Linked DNA regions of Homo sapiens: region 1 is linked to region 2. Evidence: promoter capture Hi-C in 16 types of primary human blood cells and fetal thymus (Javierre and others, 2016). All regions are on one chromosome and are shown on one strand. Each heading gives the region's core, a stretch centred on a gene start or on the middle of the fragment in contact. The rest is flanking DNA. Distances are from core to core; before and after follow the strand shown. Region 1 overlaps PICALM (phosphatidylinositol binding clathrin assembly protein). Region 2 holds the start of SYTL2 (synaptotagmin like 2).

Evidence for each region. Contacts are between HindIII fragments. The CHiCAGO score rates a contact against its expected background, and 5 or more counts as called.
Region 1: a fragment that was not itself captured here is called in contact with the fragment with the promoter of SYTL2 in region 2 in 1 of 17 cell types (naive CD4 T cells); the score reaches 5.3 in naive CD4 T cells.

The regions. Positions count from the first base shown.
Region 1 is chr11:85,957,669-85,962,595 of GRCh38, forward strand. It overlaps PICALM (phosphatidylinositol binding clathrin assembly protein), which reads right to left. Exons shown (of 20, transcript NM_007166.4): 20 at 1-1,392. The coding sequence ends at 1,378. Among named protein-coding and RNA genes, the nearest start is that of CCDC83, 100 kb to the left of the region's middle. The HindIII fragment of the contact is 4,365 bases long and covers 1-3,985 here.
Region 2 is chr11:85,809,793-85,814,623 of GRCh38, forward strand. SYTL2 (synaptotagmin like 2) reads right to left here and starts at 1,349. Exons shown (of 20, transcript NM_206927.4): 1 at 1,162-1,349. RefSeq lists a silencer at 1,308-1,487. The HindIII fragment of the contact is 7,624 bases long and covers 1-4,514 here.

The DNA.
Region 1 (4,927 bases), core at 553-3,052, 150 kb after region 2:
ATACCATAACAAAACTTTTGTGGAAGCTGCATTTTATTTGAAAATCCACCCATTTTGCTAACATACATTTTAATATTGTAAACAAAAATAGAATCTGCAGAGACAATGCAACAAGAATGCTTAAACTCATGTACAGAATTGCTTTCCTACAATGAACTGTCCTTCTTAAGGCCCCTCTCCACCCAAATGTTAAAGATGTATTTACACAAAGCACCGATCAACAGTGCAGTTTAATTCTTCGTTTACTAAACTCTTGGCTAGACATTAACTTTAAAGATACTATTTCCCCTTATTTAAAAGGTATATGATCATAACATGGCACGAGCCAAAGAAAATGTTCAAGGACTTTGCCCCCCTTCCCTCCCCCTTGTAACACCTTCTAGAGTTTTAGTGAAAAGAAGGAAAGTCTTGAAGTGAAAGCAATTCCTCACATTCATTTTGGAAAGGCCCTAATGTCAAATGGAAAATAATGACATGCCAAGCACAAAGCAGTAAAGATCCTTCCCAATGCACTAATGCTGAATTTAAAATGTAGTGCTTTTCCTAGTCAGTGAACTGTTCCCTGGCAAAATCCTAGGCACAGAATTGACTATAAGGATTAATGCATTTATAATGCTTCCCTAAATCCCACAGAGGCCGAGAATTCTTAAGAGATTCAGACCTATGGACTTGCCTTAAAATATTTAGTGCTCTGTATGTCAGCTGAGAAAAGCATTCTGAATCAGATTCATTCTTGTGGATAAAAATCAAACATACTGTGCACATCCATACTCATTTTCATAAGGAGGTCTGATACAATATTAATGTTATGTAAAATTGATAATCATAAATAAATACAAATACTTAAGGAATGTCTACTGCAAACTGAATATAATTTTTTTTAAAAAAAGAAAAGTTAATTTCAGTTATTGTTTCTGTATTTGTGAGGACTGGAGAAAAGAAAGATAATGCATAATTAGGAATTTTAATTTTGATCCCCCAAAAGAGTCCTGTTGAAATACAGTAAAGGACACAGTTCTTCTCTCCAGGCAGCTTTTCCAAATACAAATTTCACACTTTCCAAATAAGGGCTTTTCTTGATAGGTTACTGATTATGGGTATTAACAGGAGTTGAAAGAATTGAAGGGTTAGTCACCAAAAAGACAGATCTTAGTCTTAAATCATAGCAATTCTTGGCTTTATAAACTGTATTGATACGTTCTCCTATAAACTAGTCCCAATTTCCTTCATGGGCCTTCACTGAGTTACTTGTAGCATTCTAATGGAAGAAGAGAGTTTAAGAGATTTAAGAGACAGCAGTTTGGATTTTGCTGGAAGTAAGGATTTTGCTGCTTGAGCACTTGTCTTTTTGGAGTAATTCCATTTTCTTCCATCAAGTTACATAAACTGTATCTGGAAAAAAAAAGTGGGTATGTTAATTCATTGTATTGTAGGATGTCTTCTCATAAATAAAAATGCTTTGTGGTCTTTACCATTTAACTGGCCCAGAAGTGTTCACAACATGCTTATCACAAACCCTGTTTATAAAACAAAGTCAGTATTATCAACTTATGTGCCAGAAAGCTCAATATTTGACACATATAGGGACTTCCAAATAATGTTTTTTGTTGTTGTTTTTGAGACAGAGTCTTGCTCTGCTGTCTAGGCTGGATTGCAGTGGCATGATCAAAGCTCAATGGCTGGGCACCATAGCTCACACCTGTAATCCCAGCACTCTGGGAGGCTGAGGTGGGCAGATCACCTGAGGTGAGTTCGAGAGTTCGAGACTGGCCTGGCCAATATGGTGAAACCCCGTCTCTACTAAAAATACAAAAATTAGCCAGGCGTGGTGGCGGGCGCCTGTAATCCTAGCTACTCGGGAGGCTGAGGCAGGAGAATGGCTTGAACCCAGGAGGTGGAGGTTGCAGTGAGCTGAGATCGTGCCACTGCACTCCAGCCTGGGAGACAAGAGCGAAACTCCATCTCAAAAAAAAAAAAAAAAAAAAAAAGCTCATTGGAACTCCTGGGCTCAAGCAACCCTCCTGCCTCAGCCTCCTGAATAGCTAGGACTGCAGACAGTCGCCACCACACCTGGGTAATTTTTGGGTGGGGGTAGAGACTAGGGTCTCACCGTATTGCCCAGGCTGATCTTGAACTACTAGCCCCAAGTGATCCTCCCGCATCAGCCTCCCAGGGTGCTGGGATTACAGGCATAAGCAACCACATCCAGGCCAAATACTTAACTGCTAAAAATAGAGGAATAGCATGTGGAGGAGGAAAAGAAAGAAGATCAATGACCTATTTTTTCATGACAAGTTCAGAAAAATCTCTCCATAAGCACAAATACCACAAGCAAAATCTCATTTGGGAAGCAAAATTTGAAATATTATTTCCAAATGATATACAATTAGAGACAATAAAGGGAACAGTAATATTATACTAAGTCTTTTTATTAACATAAATAAGAACCTGAAAGAGCCATAAAAATATTTTTCAATAGGGTACTACTGTTCATTCAAAGATATTTCACTCACAATTTCCCTTAAACTGCCCATCCAAAGATTACTGAAGTAGATGTGCTAATAAACTTGCCAAATCAGAAGACTATAAACTCCCAAAGATCTAGAAGGTATATCTAAACTGGGGGCTAGAGCATCAAGAAGAACAAATTACACTGTCTTCCAGCAAACAGAGGCAGTGTGGATCATATGCAGAATCCTTCTAATCGAAAGGGCTTAAGTATTCACTTGCCCTTAATTAAAAAGCAAACTTTATCCGATCTCATCCATTTACTGTGAGCAGTGGATGAGATTACTTTAAATAATTATGTTACAGATATTTTCCAAAAGTTGTTTTTCCTTATGTCCTATCTTTTCATTCTGCACCTAAAGAATAGAGGAAGAGGAGGAGGAGGAGAGGGAGCCTAGAGTCCTTTAAAGAAATGAAAGAGAAGCGTGAATTGTGTTTAATGTTTGGTAATTGTTTTTAAGTATTTAAGTCCCCATCTCCCAAAACAAGTAGCAATACCTAAAGTGATTTATAAGAAATCCTCCAAAGAGAGCTCTGCAAAGGGGTCCTTTCCTGAAGCTCTGTGAGGACTGTGACTGGAGGGGCTGGATGCTGCCGACAGCTGGGGGAAAAGAAGACAGAGAGAGGGAAAGAAAAAAAGATCTCAGAATGACAGAACATGAAAGCAGAAAATGTATGAAAGAAGAAGTGGTTTTGGTTTTGTCATCTTTAATAAATATAAGGGCAGTCTTTGTAGAAAATGGATTGTTAAGACAAAAGTTTCAGTCATATGTCAAGTTAAAAGGTATGCAATGGCATGTGTTTTTCAGAAAACAAACTCGTGCTTCTGAAGTTTCAAAGGAATAATGTCTTTTACCCAAAAGGTCGATATAAGCTGACCCATGGTTAAGAATTTTAATGTGTGTATGGGGGGTGGTGGGGGGATAGGGGAGGGAATACATAATTGCATTTTTGTTTAAAATTGAGAGAACATGGTTTCCTGTGTCCAGGCTATCTGTCCAAAGCTGTGCAACTCTGACCTCAGTCCGGACCCAACACATCTAGCTGCAATATTCTTTCCTTTCTTTCTTCATAAGGGTCGAAAAGTCCTGTCCTAGGTTCACACACTTTTTACACGAAGTTGTCTCCTGCTCATTTATCTTGACGAACTGCAGCTGACACACGTACTGTGGGAGGTGAAAGGGACCTTAGAGGTCACCTACTGTAACTGTCCACATACTGCCCTGAATATGGGGAATACTTAAGATCTTTGATTCTGCTTCCTGTTTGGACAAATTTACTTGATTCTTAGAATCTGTCCTATTGTTTAATTCGAATATACTGTAAGGCAAGTAAACAACTGAATTCAGTATGTATCTTTATTCTCCCAAACACAGACTATTCCTGAAGAACCAAGATATTAATTTTCATACATGTATCCTTCATTAAGCTGACATGAGCGTTTCAAACCCGACATGAACCTTTTTACTTTGGAACAAGCTTTTAATTCTTTTTCTCCCTCTGTATAAGATTGCAAAGCATATAAGCACAGGACTATTACAAAATGAGCTTTTCTTTTAGGGATGTCCTAGTGAGTAATAAAAGTTGACTAACTGGAAATAGTTTCAATTCATACTTCAACATTCAAATCCTATAGAGGATTTCTTTGCTGGTGCCAAGTGATTTCATTTCTTTCTACCTATTTATTTATTTATTTATTTATTTATTTATTTTCGGAAAAGCACTACAGAGAATGAACAGCCAATGAGCTTCGGCAAATATTACATCACTAGTATATGCAACTTGTTCTGGATGCCAAGATCAATTTATAGGCATCAGTTATACTCATGGTTGAGTAATTTCCTAATGCATATCTTGTTCCCAAAAACAAATGTTCAAAGACAATGGGAAGAGACAAATGGAACAATGATGGAATCACGCAGGCAGCTACAGATGGGAGGACAGAGCAGCATGCCTGGGCTTGAGGTTTCAAATATCATCCATGCAGAGACAAATTAAGGTATAACTACTGGAAAGACTCCCCCTCCTCCCTCTTCAGCGCAACCACGGACGGCCAATCAAAAGCACAACGATTTCAAGTAAAGTGATCCTCAGTTACTGAGCTGGAGGGAGTCCAACATCCACACTTATCTCCAAGATGAACTTGGTTTCTCTCTGAAGCAGATTTTCTTTTTCACCTACAGTTAAAACAACAGCAACAACAAATCCTACTTATTGCAGATAGACTGCATCTAAAATCAGAAGTTTCCTATGATAGCCCCACACCGAAATACCTTCTTAAATCACGTTTTCACCAGGGTAGCAGTCTGAAGACCTGACAGACCCACAGTAAAATGCCCCTGAAGAATACGGAAGAGACAAATCTATTTTCAATATGTGAGCATACTGCTAGACAAGTCCTAGAGGCTTATAAACAATG
Region 2 (4,831 bases), core at 99-2,598:
CCTAGCTGCTCTTGATGGGTTCTGCAATCTGATTTCACCTGGATACCACACTAAGGGTGAGAAGGGGCAGAACTTCAGGGGTGGAGGAAAGTGAGGGAAGGGAAATGCTGGAGACCTTCCATAGAAATCCAGCCAAGTCCTCAGCTCCTTTCAATCATCCTACTCTATCTGGCTGCTCCATCCAGCAGACAGCAGGGGTCACCATCCTGGTGGGGAATGGCTGCCAACAAGGGGACGGGAAGCTGGATGGCAGTTTGCATCCACCCCACCTTCCAGGGTCTATCTGTCTGAAGCCCCACCGGGCTTCCTCTGCACATCCCTGCCGGGCTGTGTGGCTCAGGGGGCTGACAGGGTGATTCATAGCCTGTTCTTATCTAGGCTTCTATCTCAACCCTGCGCCCAAAGCCCTGGAGGCTGCTGGTCACAAACCAGCACTAAATGAAAAGAAGAACTTTTCATTAAGGCAGGAAGTGGAGCCCCTCAAGGTCAAAGGGGATTTATAAAGAGAGGAGGAAAGAAAGGGAAGACGCGGCAGGATGGGTGCAGAGAAAGAGAGACCCACTTCCTATATGCTGGTGGAGCCCTGTGTCTTAGACGCTAAAAACAGTCGCTTTTCCACTTCAAAGGATGATAAAGCCCACTCGTGTAGTTTATAGCTCGCCGTGGGACGAGGTGTGGGTATGGAAGAGAATTCCAAAACACGTCTTATTTTCAAAGGAGAAATCATCATCCCCTGGCCGGCCCTTCCCAACACCCCACCTGTAAACAGGTGCTGACGCTCCTACCTTTCTGCACCTGAGCAATCTGGGGGCAGTTACTCTGCAGCCAGGTCTCCCCAGCACCCAGCCCCAAGCCCAGGTCAGTCCCTGAAAGCCCTAGAAAACGCGATAGCTCAGCAGAACCCTCGCCTACCCGGGCATCCCAGCTTCCTGGCCGCCTGGGCAGCGGAGGTGGCTCTGGAGTAGGTGGGAAACTGAGGAAAGGAGCTTTCCCCGTGCCAAAACGCAGTTCCCATTTTAGAACTGGTTAGACTAAGGAACAACATTCTACACCACCTCCCTCACTTAACAGAGGAGGAAGCAGAGACCAAGAGAGGGAAACAAAGTTGCCCGAGGTAACACAGCGAGTGGGCCAAGTAGAGACTGGAACCCGAGTGCGCACCTCCGAGTCGCTGCCGGGCAGGGAGCGCGCCTCGCCGTCTCTCTTGTCTTCTGGCCCCCAGCCCTCGGCCTGGCGGTGCAAACCGCGCAGCCCCGGGCGCGGCGCGTTACCTTCCCCCGGGCAAGGCGTTGCGAGCCTTCACTCTCCCGACGGACGCTGGCGGCACGGCCCGGGTGTCGCCCGGCACTGTCAACGCAGAGCGGCGTGCGCGAGTCCCTCCCCGCTACCCCCGCCCCCGGCGGGCGGTGCGGTGGGGCCGGTCCCGGGTGCTCGGGCCAATGGCGCTTCGCCCGCTCCCCGCCCCGGCCCGCCCCGGCCTCCTCGCCCGGCACACAGCGCCTGCCAGCCCCTGCCCTCTCCCCTTCCCTCCCTTCGCCCTCCGCCCCCGCCTGCTGCTTCTCTCCGGTTCCTAGCCTCCTTCTCAAGTGTACCTTGCCCCGAAACAACCTGTTTTCTGTGCAAATAAAGCAGCACTGTTGTTATTGTTATTATTATTTTTATCACGGCGCGTTAGGGGGCCTTGGAGCCCGAGAGTGTGGAGCACTAGGAGCCTCTGCACTCCGAGAAGGGACAGCCACCGCGCAGGGAAAGGGGCGCGGAGGGTATGGAGCCCGGTCATGGGGTAACTTGCTTTAACCCTCGGGACGTCAATTTCCTCACATGTGAAATAGAAGAAGGGGGGAAAAAAGTTGTTGAGAGGACTAAATGAAGTGATGCTTTAAAATACAATAATACCTAGAGAAAGGTGAGGGCGTCATGCACTGCCTGAGCTACTTACTGGGGTATGCACAGAGGACTGGTAAGCTCCTGGAAGACGCTGTGTGGCAGGGAGGCAGACAATGCAATACAGTAAATACAATATTGTGGTCGGGCGCGGTGGCTCACACCTGTAATCCCAGCATTATGGGAGGCCGAGGCAGGTGGATAACCCGAGGTCAGGAGTTCGGGACCAGCCCGGCCAACATAGCAAAACTCTGTTCTAATTAGAAAAGAAAAAAGAAAAATTAGCTGGGTGTGGTGGCGAGCGCCCGTAGTCCCAACTACTTAGGAAGCTGAGGCAGGAGAATCGCTTTAACCCGAGAGGTGGAGGCTGCCGTGAGCCAAGATCGCACCACTGCACCCCATCCTGGGTGACAGAGCAAGACTCTGTCTCAAAAAAATAAATAAAATAATTTAAAAATTGTATCACGACCTATTTTTTACAAGTTACCCATGATGGGGCCAGCCCAGGCAAACCTCTGAAGGAGATGAACCTTAAAGCCTTTTTCCTTATCATTTCCTGGACTAGTGTTGTCCATTTAACTGAGGGTGGCCCAGGTCTGCCTTTGGTTCTTCCAAAGGTCTTCCTTCTCCCAAACTTACAAATACTTATCCCCAAGGGCTTCAGTTAGTGCCCAGTGCAGGCTGCTAGCCTGGCCCAAGAGTCCTGGCACTGTGCAGAGATGTGTATTCTGGCTTCCTTCAGCCTTTGAGAGCCTGGTGTGTCCCTGTGCTGGGTGAGCATGCCACATGCAAAAGAGGAATAAGCCACTGGTCTTGCCTTTGAAGAAACAAATTTGTAAATAATTTCATTTTAGGGTAAGTGTTATAATAGGTTGACAAAGTGTTGTAGAGTCACTACGCTGAAGGAGGGGGACAATAAAAAATACAAATGTGACCAAGGTAGGTCTTGAAGGAGGGCTACAAATTAGGTCAGATTGAAGGGGTGACAGAAGACTGGGCACAGAGAGGCAGGCAGAGACATGGAGATGCCTGTCATATGTCACGGCTATTGCACAGGATTTGGGACAATGAGGCAGAGATGAAGCTAAGGAGGTAGGTGGGCAGATGTTGGAGGAGTGGCTGTACCTGCCTTGCTGAGGGAAGCAGGCTGTGTCCTGTTGGTGATGGCTGTTGGCGAATGATTTTAGGCAGGGGAGTAGCGTGACCTCAGATGCTTTTGGTACTTCACTTTTATTGTTGATTGCACCTGCCTTGGTTATCCCCTTCCTGCCCCTCTCTAGCTCTGGAGGGCAGGCACTGGGTCTTGCTCACCTCTGGGTGCCTTGTATCATCTGGCATAGGACTTTGAAGGAACTAAATACATGCTGTTCCCAGTATCACTCGTCCCCTGGAAACAAATAGCAATGCCTAAATGCTAGAGAGGGTCACAGGATCCTTGCTTCAGGTTGTGGGGCAGGCAAGTGGGGGAGAAATTTTAAGGCAGGGTCTTGTTATGGCTCCCAATTCATCTAAATCTTGTATGGCTCAGAGACTAAATCTTAGAGCTCTTGGCCAAGATCCAAATGCTGTTAGAAATGTCAATTTCTAATAAGACCTTAGACCAATTACTCAACCTCCCTGTGCTTCAGTTTGCTCATTTGTTAGAGAGAAAATAATTGCACTGCTCTCTCAGGCCTACTGTGAAGATTAAAAGAAGATGCACATGTTTAGCATGATGCCTTGCACATACAGTGCACTGAAAAAGCCTTGGTTAACACGATCATATCAAGTCAGCAATGGCCTGTTCCACTTATCCCATAGGAACCCTTCAAAATGGTTTACATATAAGTGACACTTAAACTTTAGAGAATTCTAGGTTGACATTGAAGGGGAAGGCAAGAGGGTAGGGATAGCATGGTGTAAGGTTAAATGCACAGACTTTGGTGTATCTCCTGGCTCTACCACAGAACTCGCTGGTTGACTTTGGACAAGTCACTTAATTTCCTTCTTTCTCTGGGTGACTTTAGACAAGTCTCCTCCCTCCCTCCCTCCCTCCCTCCTTTCCTTCCTTCCTTCCTTCCTTCCTTCCTTTTTTGGCAGGGTCTCACTTTGTTGCCCAGGCAGTGGCACAAACACAGCGCACTGCAGCCTCAACCTCCCAGGCTCAAGCCATCCTCCCACCTCAGCCTTCCAGGTAGCTGGGACTACAAGCACACACCACCACGCCCAGTTAATTATTGTATTCTTAGTAGAGACGTGGTTTCGCAATGTTGACCTCTTGAGCTGAAGCGATCTGCCCGCCTCAGCATCTCTAAGTGTTGGGATTACGGGCGTGAGCCACTGCACCCAGCCTAAGTCACTTAACTTCTGTTAGCGATTGTTCTTCTATAAAATAGAAGTAGTCATATTACCTGCCCCATGCCAAGGAGATAACACATAACACATATAGCATATTGCCTGGCCCAAGGTAAGATCTCAATTCCTGTTAGCTAATGGTGTGATAATGGTTGGAAGAGAGTTATTATAGTTTTTGGAAAGAATAATCTCCATGCCTCTGCCTGCCTCTCTGCACCCCAGTTTTCTGTCACCCCTTCCAGATGACCTAACTTGTAGCCCTCCTTCAACATCTACCTTGGTCACATTTGAATGTAAGCTTTTATTGTCCCCCTCCTTCAGTGTATGTGACTGTAACTAATATATTGGAAAGGGGAAATGTAATCCTGGAAAAAACTAAACCTACATGTAAAGGTTGGTGCTGGATCTGTGAAAACTAACTGGGACAGGAGTAGAAGTGAGCTTAGAAAACTGCAGGTAGGGCATGGGCCTGAAAGAGTTTTGTAGGTAGACTTATTTAAGTTGAGAACCCCTGTCTGAACAAGGATAAGATTCTTGTAGCTCTATGGAACTGAACAAAATGGAATATTGTTTGCAGAATTGAGTATGACCACTCTCTGAGCTGCCTTCTTGG